Regions from separate parts of the Homo sapiens genome. Here region 2 is linked to region 1. The links are contacts of gene promoters, found by promoter capture Hi-C in human tissues and cell types (Jung and others, 2019). All regions are on one chromosome and are shown on one strand. Each heading gives the region's core, a stretch centred on a gene start or on the middle of the fragment in contact. The rest is flanking DNA. Distances are from core to core; before and after follow the strand shown. Region 1 holds the start of ZNF507 (zinc finger protein 507). Region 2 has its middle 28 kb from the start of ZNF536-AS1.

Region 1 (3,100 bases), core at 242-2,741:
CGTAATGCAAATTTAAATAATTTATCTAACAAGCCGACTTGAGGATTTTGCAGAAGTTAGGAAAAAATAGCTCTGGAAACTTCTCCCAATAATTGTGTATTTTGTTTTACCTCAGAATTTAGGTACTGGACTCAACACTATTGGTTTTACTGACAACATTTTCTAATGAGAATGGAACAATAAATTGCACATTGCTATTTTAATCTAAACTAAAAATACAATCTAACGAGTGATTCTGCAACCAAGCACAATAGGCAGAAAAACAGCATAAAAAGATATGACACAGTGGTGTGACCTATATATCTTCTAACGCAGTTTCCTACTCTGGTCCTACATTTCTTTGCCACTGTTTCTTATACTGGCTGGAATAAATCTAAAAGATAAAAAAATGCTTATTCGTTTCACCTAGAATGCAACTACCTTATCGATTACGGTTAAGTAAAATAGCTCACTGCCAGGGCAGAAAAAACATCTTTAGGGCTCCCCTGAAGTTAATTTTCAACGAGTTAGTGAGGTAAAGGAATGAAGGGCCAGGCTTTCTTTTAATCAATAATGCAACCCATACTCTGAGTGAGAGGGGAGTACTGGAGAAAGTGCAAACTCAAAGAGGTGATAAATCCAGTAATTGCCTGAGAAGAGCGATGCAGACTGATAGCAAATTACAGCCCACTGCAGAAACTTAAAAATACCGCCTTGGGGTTGGGAAAGTGGCCGCCACCTTATTAATCATCCCGGCCTTCTACACAAACCATTCATTCCGATGCCCCCAGGTCTTAAGAGGTGGGAACTTTCCCTGATGGTCTCCGTGATCTCTGGAGACATCATTCTATCTCCAGAGGATGGTAATAAATGCAGAAGACCAGGGCTGCGTTTCTGTAGTAGCTTTTTCTACACCACGCACTGGCTAAAGGACTGAGGTGATGGGTCGGGAATGAGGGAGCTTAGAAAATTAATCAAAAGATGCTGTGAGAACATCGTGGCTGGGTCCATCCCGGCTGGCCTAAGCGATCTCACATTTGCAGAAAGAAGCAACGCCTGGAGAAGGAAGCAACGCCTGCGGGCGGGCCGGGCTGGTGACAGTATGCAGGGAGCAGCAAGTTCCCCCCACCCCCAGCTGCAGGGCAAGCCCAGAGTCTCCGCAGGCCTTGCTGCACAGAAGACAGAACCGGGACACGGAACTTGGGGCTTGTGGCTAGCACCGGGCGGGGGTCGGCCGGCTGAGGAGGAAGCGAGCGCCGGCAGAGGCCTGAGGGGAGGATGCACATGGCCGGCGGCGGCGCTAACAGCGGGCGGAGGGGCGGCCCCGGGGCGCGGTACCTGCGGTCAGGCGGCGGCTGCTGCTTCCGCGAGCCTCGTTTGGCCAGCCAGGACCCGGCCGTGCCCTCGCCCTCGTCCTTGCCCACCTCTCTCCCGGCTCTTTTCCCTCTTTTCCCCCGGTTTCCCCCTCCTCATCCGGAGCTCCAAAATGGCGGCGCTGGGGACGGATCACGTGAGCCGCGGGTGGGTCAGGTGACCCGAATGGCGGGCAGCGGGGGCGGGGCGAGGCTCAGGCCCCGCCTACCGGCGTCCCGGGCCGCCGAGGCTGGACCCGCGAGAGGGAGGCTCCCCAGCCGGTTTAGCCCCTTGCAAACCCTGGCTCCCGGGCGGGGTTCGGGCCCAGTTGTCTGGCTCTCATGGCCCCTTCCAGACGTCTAGATTTAGAAGTCACCGTGTATTCACTTTGGCATCTCCCCACGTCGCCTAAATCCGCTGTGGGCTAGCCTTATCACCCCACTCACCCCGCAATTGGCTTTCAACAATGGGCATTGGGGTTTTTTTTTTTTTTTTCTTTAGCCTTGTGCTTCTGGATTTGTATTAGTTCCTTTGGTAGGACTGTACATTTCAAGGTGTTCTTGGCTAAAATATAGAGGTCCTAGCCAGATTCGCAGCTTGGCGTTAAGGGGTGCCTGTTAAGGGCCAGAGCTGGCCCTGGGGAATCTCTTTGCTTGAGAGATTCAGGATTTTCAGGGTTTGTAGGACCAGACCCAGTAACACAAGCTCAGCCCTCCGAGGGCACGATGGTGTTTGTCATTCGGATCTGTTCTATGAAAGATACTAGGGTGGTTCTCCTGCTAACAGTGAAAAACGGACTAAGTGAAGCATTCCAGCCAATTTCACCAAAAATGCTGGATAGTTTTGCCGTATTAGGAACTACGCAGCATGGTGCTTGGGTCTGGACTCCGGGTGAGCGGTGGGCATGAGCAAGGGTGTAAAACTGAAGATTCTGGCCATTGTAGTGGAATGGACTCATTTGGTGAGATACCTCTTGGGGATCTGTTCCAGATCTTTTTAGAGGCCTTTACAGCTGGCTGGGCTGTCCACGGTCCTGGGAGGAAGATCCAACAAAATTTAGAATCAGACAGGCTGATAATTCCTGTTACTGTATTTCAGAATTCAAATTCATCTGAATTTGGGGGTTAGGAAACCAGCAAAGTTAGAATTTTTATTTTTATTTTTATTTTATTTTTTTGAGTCAGAGTCTCACTCTCTCCCCAGGCTGGAGTGCAGGGGCGCAATCTCGGCTCACTGCAACCTCCACCTCCCAGGTTCAAGTGATTCTCCTGCCTCAGCCTCCCGAGTAGCTGGCACTACAGGGCGTGCCACCATGCCCAGCTAATTTTTTTGTATTTTTAGTAGAGACGGGGTTTCACCATGTTGGCCAGGATGGTCTCGATCTCTTGACATCATGATCCGCCCGCCTCAGCCTCCCAAAGTGCTGGGGTTACCGGCGTGAGCCACCGCGCCCGGCTGCAAAGTTAGAATTCTGCTATTCCACAGAATCCTTTGCCAATTAGACCAAATAGCTGTGAAAAAATAAAATGTTGAGTAATTTTTTTTTCGATAAAAGGTAAGAGATTGAGCAGGAGACTAGCATGGAAGGGTGGAAAGAAAAAACAGTGAAGAAAACCCAGAAATACGAAGTGTTGAAAGGGAGAACAAACAAGTAATATGAGAAATTCCTTGCCTTGGGCTATTGGCACAAACAATCCTAACTTATCATTATCTGAAGAGAGGCTTTTCGTTAGTCATGTCTTAAGTGTAATGTCCATGAATCTGAAAG
Region 2 (3,165 bases), core at 454-2,953, 1.6 Mb after region 1:
TTGAATATTTACCACTTTGACCCTGAGGCTGCAAAATGGGAGGATGCCAGCCCAGGACCCTGGCAATCCTGCCTTCAGCTTCAAGAGGCTCAGTGGCTCAGCAGGGCAATGAGAGAGGTAAAAATATACATAAAGAATCACTAGGCCCACAGAGAGAGCCGTTTTCTCAGTTGCACATATAGTTTAAAAAAATTTCCTAATTCCAAATAGGCGAGAATGATTCCAATCAGGTACGTAATTTATGTTTTCAGTTTTAAAAAAATATTCATCCATCTCATCAAAGATGCTAAAACACTTTGGAATATCCTTAGTACAAATAAATTTAGGTTTCAAATTTCCTGTGATTTGGGTTTTAATTTAGAAGGCTACCCAAAAAAAAATGTACTTATTTTACAAGTGCATTTTGATCTGTGTGGTAATGGATTGAAGACATCTGTGTGAACTCAAGCTTAACTTCATATTTATAATATAGATGTGTGTATATACAGGAGTTAGTACACAAGCATATATTTCCTTATTCTGTCAGCTGAGAGGGTCTAGAAGTGGTGACATTGGTTTCTAATACCACTCCCAAAAAAAGGGAACCAGGGCTCCTTGGAGAAATGGCTGATTCTAGGACTGGGATAGGAAATACACCAAAATAATCCCGGGGTATTTAGTGCTAGAAAGTAAGAAAGTACTAAAAAAAAACCCCCACATATTGATGGTGGAGTGGGGGTGTCAGATTAGCACAGAGCTTGCTGAAGAAGCCCCCATACCCAAAGGTAGAACCATTTGAGTAACAAAGTAAACAACATAATATCAGATTATGACCCAGAGTCTAAAATAAATATCCACAAATCATACTGGCATAAATGATTGCATCAATAAATACAGGGGGAAGGATTGACAAATGCCTTGTGCATTCCAAATAATTTTGTAGCTATTTCTTGCTCAAGGAGACGGAGCATATCTCCCTACTCCTTAAGAGTGGACTGTGCCAAGTGACTTCCTTCCAAAGAGTACAGTATGGAAAGGGACGGGAGAGTAACTTCCGTGGAGAAACCAGACAAACATGACCTCAGCCAGCAGACCAAGGTCAGGCTGACAGCAGGTGCCCTTGACTTGATATGATGAGAATGGTAATTTACCTTTGTGGTCTTCCTTCCCTAAATCCATAACCCCAGTCTACACATGAGAAATTGCAACTGAGGGACGTTCTGCAAAATACTCCTGGAAACTGTCAAGGTCATCAGAAACAAGAAAAGTGAGAAACTGTTGCAGCCAGGAAGGTGGAAGGAGACAGGACACCTAAGGTAATATGGTATCCTGGAGCAGAACAGGACATCGGATAAAAACTAAAACACTAAGAATACAAGATGGACTTTATTTAAAAATAATGTGTCAATATTGCTTCGTGAATTGTGACAAACATACCCTACCAATGTAAGATGTTAATAATAGTGGGAAATGGCGGTGAAATCTATGAGAGTTCTCTGTATTATCTATGCAAACTTTTTTTTTTTTTTTGAGACTGAGTCTTGCTCTGTCACCCAGGCTGGAGTACAGTGGCGCAGTCTCAGTTCACTGCAGCGTCCACCTCCCAGGTTCAAGTGATTCTCCAGACTCAGCATCCTGCGTAGCTGGGACTACAGGCGTGCACCAATGGGTCCAGCTAATTTTTGTATTTTTAGTAGAGACTGGGTTTCACCATGTTGGCCAGGCTGGTCTTGAACAGTTGACCTCAGGTGATCCGCCTGCCATGGCCTCCCACAGTGCTGGGATTACAGGCGTGAAGCACCACATCCCACGTCTATGAAACATTTTTATAAATCTAAATCCATACTAAAATTAAAAGTTTATTTTGAAAGTTTATTTAAAAGTGGATTTGATTGATTTTCTGTGAACAGGAAGAAACCAACACCCCACATCAAGAGATGCTTCCAAAGTCACAGAACCAAACAGGTAATACTTAACTTCTGTTGACACGAAAACTTCTGGAGGGCATATGGCACACACACAGTCTGCTGGGCCTGCAACCCAAGGATCAGGGAAGGCAGCAGAGCAGATTTTGAGAAATCGCCACTGCCCTGCTAGCATGCAGCATTTTTCATTATTCAAGCACAGTGATGAAGACTGTAGATTTTCAAGCCAGACACCAAGGCTCTAACGTATCTGCCTCTTATCGGTTGTGTGTGCTCTTGAACCAGCTAGTTAACCTTTCTAAGTCTCAGTTTTCTCATCGGTAAAATGGGTGCAATAATAATAATAGCTCCCTAATAGGATTGCTGTGAGGATTCAATGAGATGAGGCCTGATGCTTAAGCACAAAGTGCAGCACATAGAGTTAAATGAATGTCTGCTAGAAAAGGCTGTAAGTATTAAAATACTCCACCTACTACGTGCCCATTGCATGGTAACCTTGAACTTCAAATGGGAGATGTGCATTTTGATTCCTCTGCCAATGCTGAAATCAGGGGTTGGGCTCCCATTTGTTGGATGATATGGTTTGGCTCTGTGTCCCCATCCAAATCTCAACTTGAATTGCGATCCCTAGGTGTTGAGGCAGGGACCTGGTGGGAGGTGATTGGATCATGGGGACCATTTCCCCCATGCTGTTCTCTTGATAGTGAGGGAGTTCTCATGAGTGCTGATGGTTTTAAAAGTGTTTGGCAGTTCCCACTTGCTCTCTCTCTCACCTGCCCCCATGCCTGGCTTCCCCTTTACCTTACGCCATGACTGTAAGTTTCCTGAGGCCTCCTCAGCCATGCAGAACTATGAGTCAATTAGACCTCTTTTGTTTATAAATTACCCTGTCTCTGATCATATCTTTGTAGCAGTGTGAGAATGGACTAGCACAGCATCTGTCCAGAGCCACAAAGCCAGAGAGAGGCAGAACATGGTCCTGCAGCTGGAGCTCAACCTGCACTGTGTCTTGCTGTCTCCCTGCAGCTTGAGGCCCAAGTTGAGTTAGGATAAGAGCTTAGATGTCGCCAGATTTCAGCAGGGCATCAGCAGAGAGGAGCCTCTGGCTGGTGGTGCAGAGTCTCCCATGCCTCCCAGCTCAGCCCCACCAGGTGTTGGCTTCAGGGCTACTCTTCCTGGGGCCTGGCCTCTAGGTGGCTCCCTTCCCCAGCAACTTCATCCCCCGCCATTGCGCATGCCCTACAGATTTTGCCTTATATCC

The links. The method cuts DNA at HindIII sites, captures the fragments that hold promoters and counts their contacts. A contact is called where the count stands out against the background at its distance.
Region 2: a fragment that was not itself captured here is called in contact with the fragment with the promoter of ZNF507 in region 1 in 1 of the 25 tissues and cell types used here (dorsolateral prefrontal cortex).

What each region holds. Positions count from the first base shown.
Region 1 is chr19:32,344,001-32,347,100 of GRCh38, reverse strand. It overlaps ZNF507 (zinc finger protein 507), which reads right to left and starts at 1,491. Exons shown (of 7, transcript NM_001136156.2): 1 at 1,318-1,491. RefSeq lists silencers at 1,318-1,507, 1,538-1,667. The HindIII fragment of the contact is 20,549 bases long and covers 1-3,100 here.
Region 2 is chr19:30,696,636-30,699,800 of GRCh38, reverse strand. It overlaps a transcript of ZNF536 not described here. Among named protein-coding and RNA genes, the nearest start is that of ZNF536-AS1, 28 kb to the right of the region's middle. The HindIII fragment of the contact is 6,760 bases long and covers 1-3,165 here.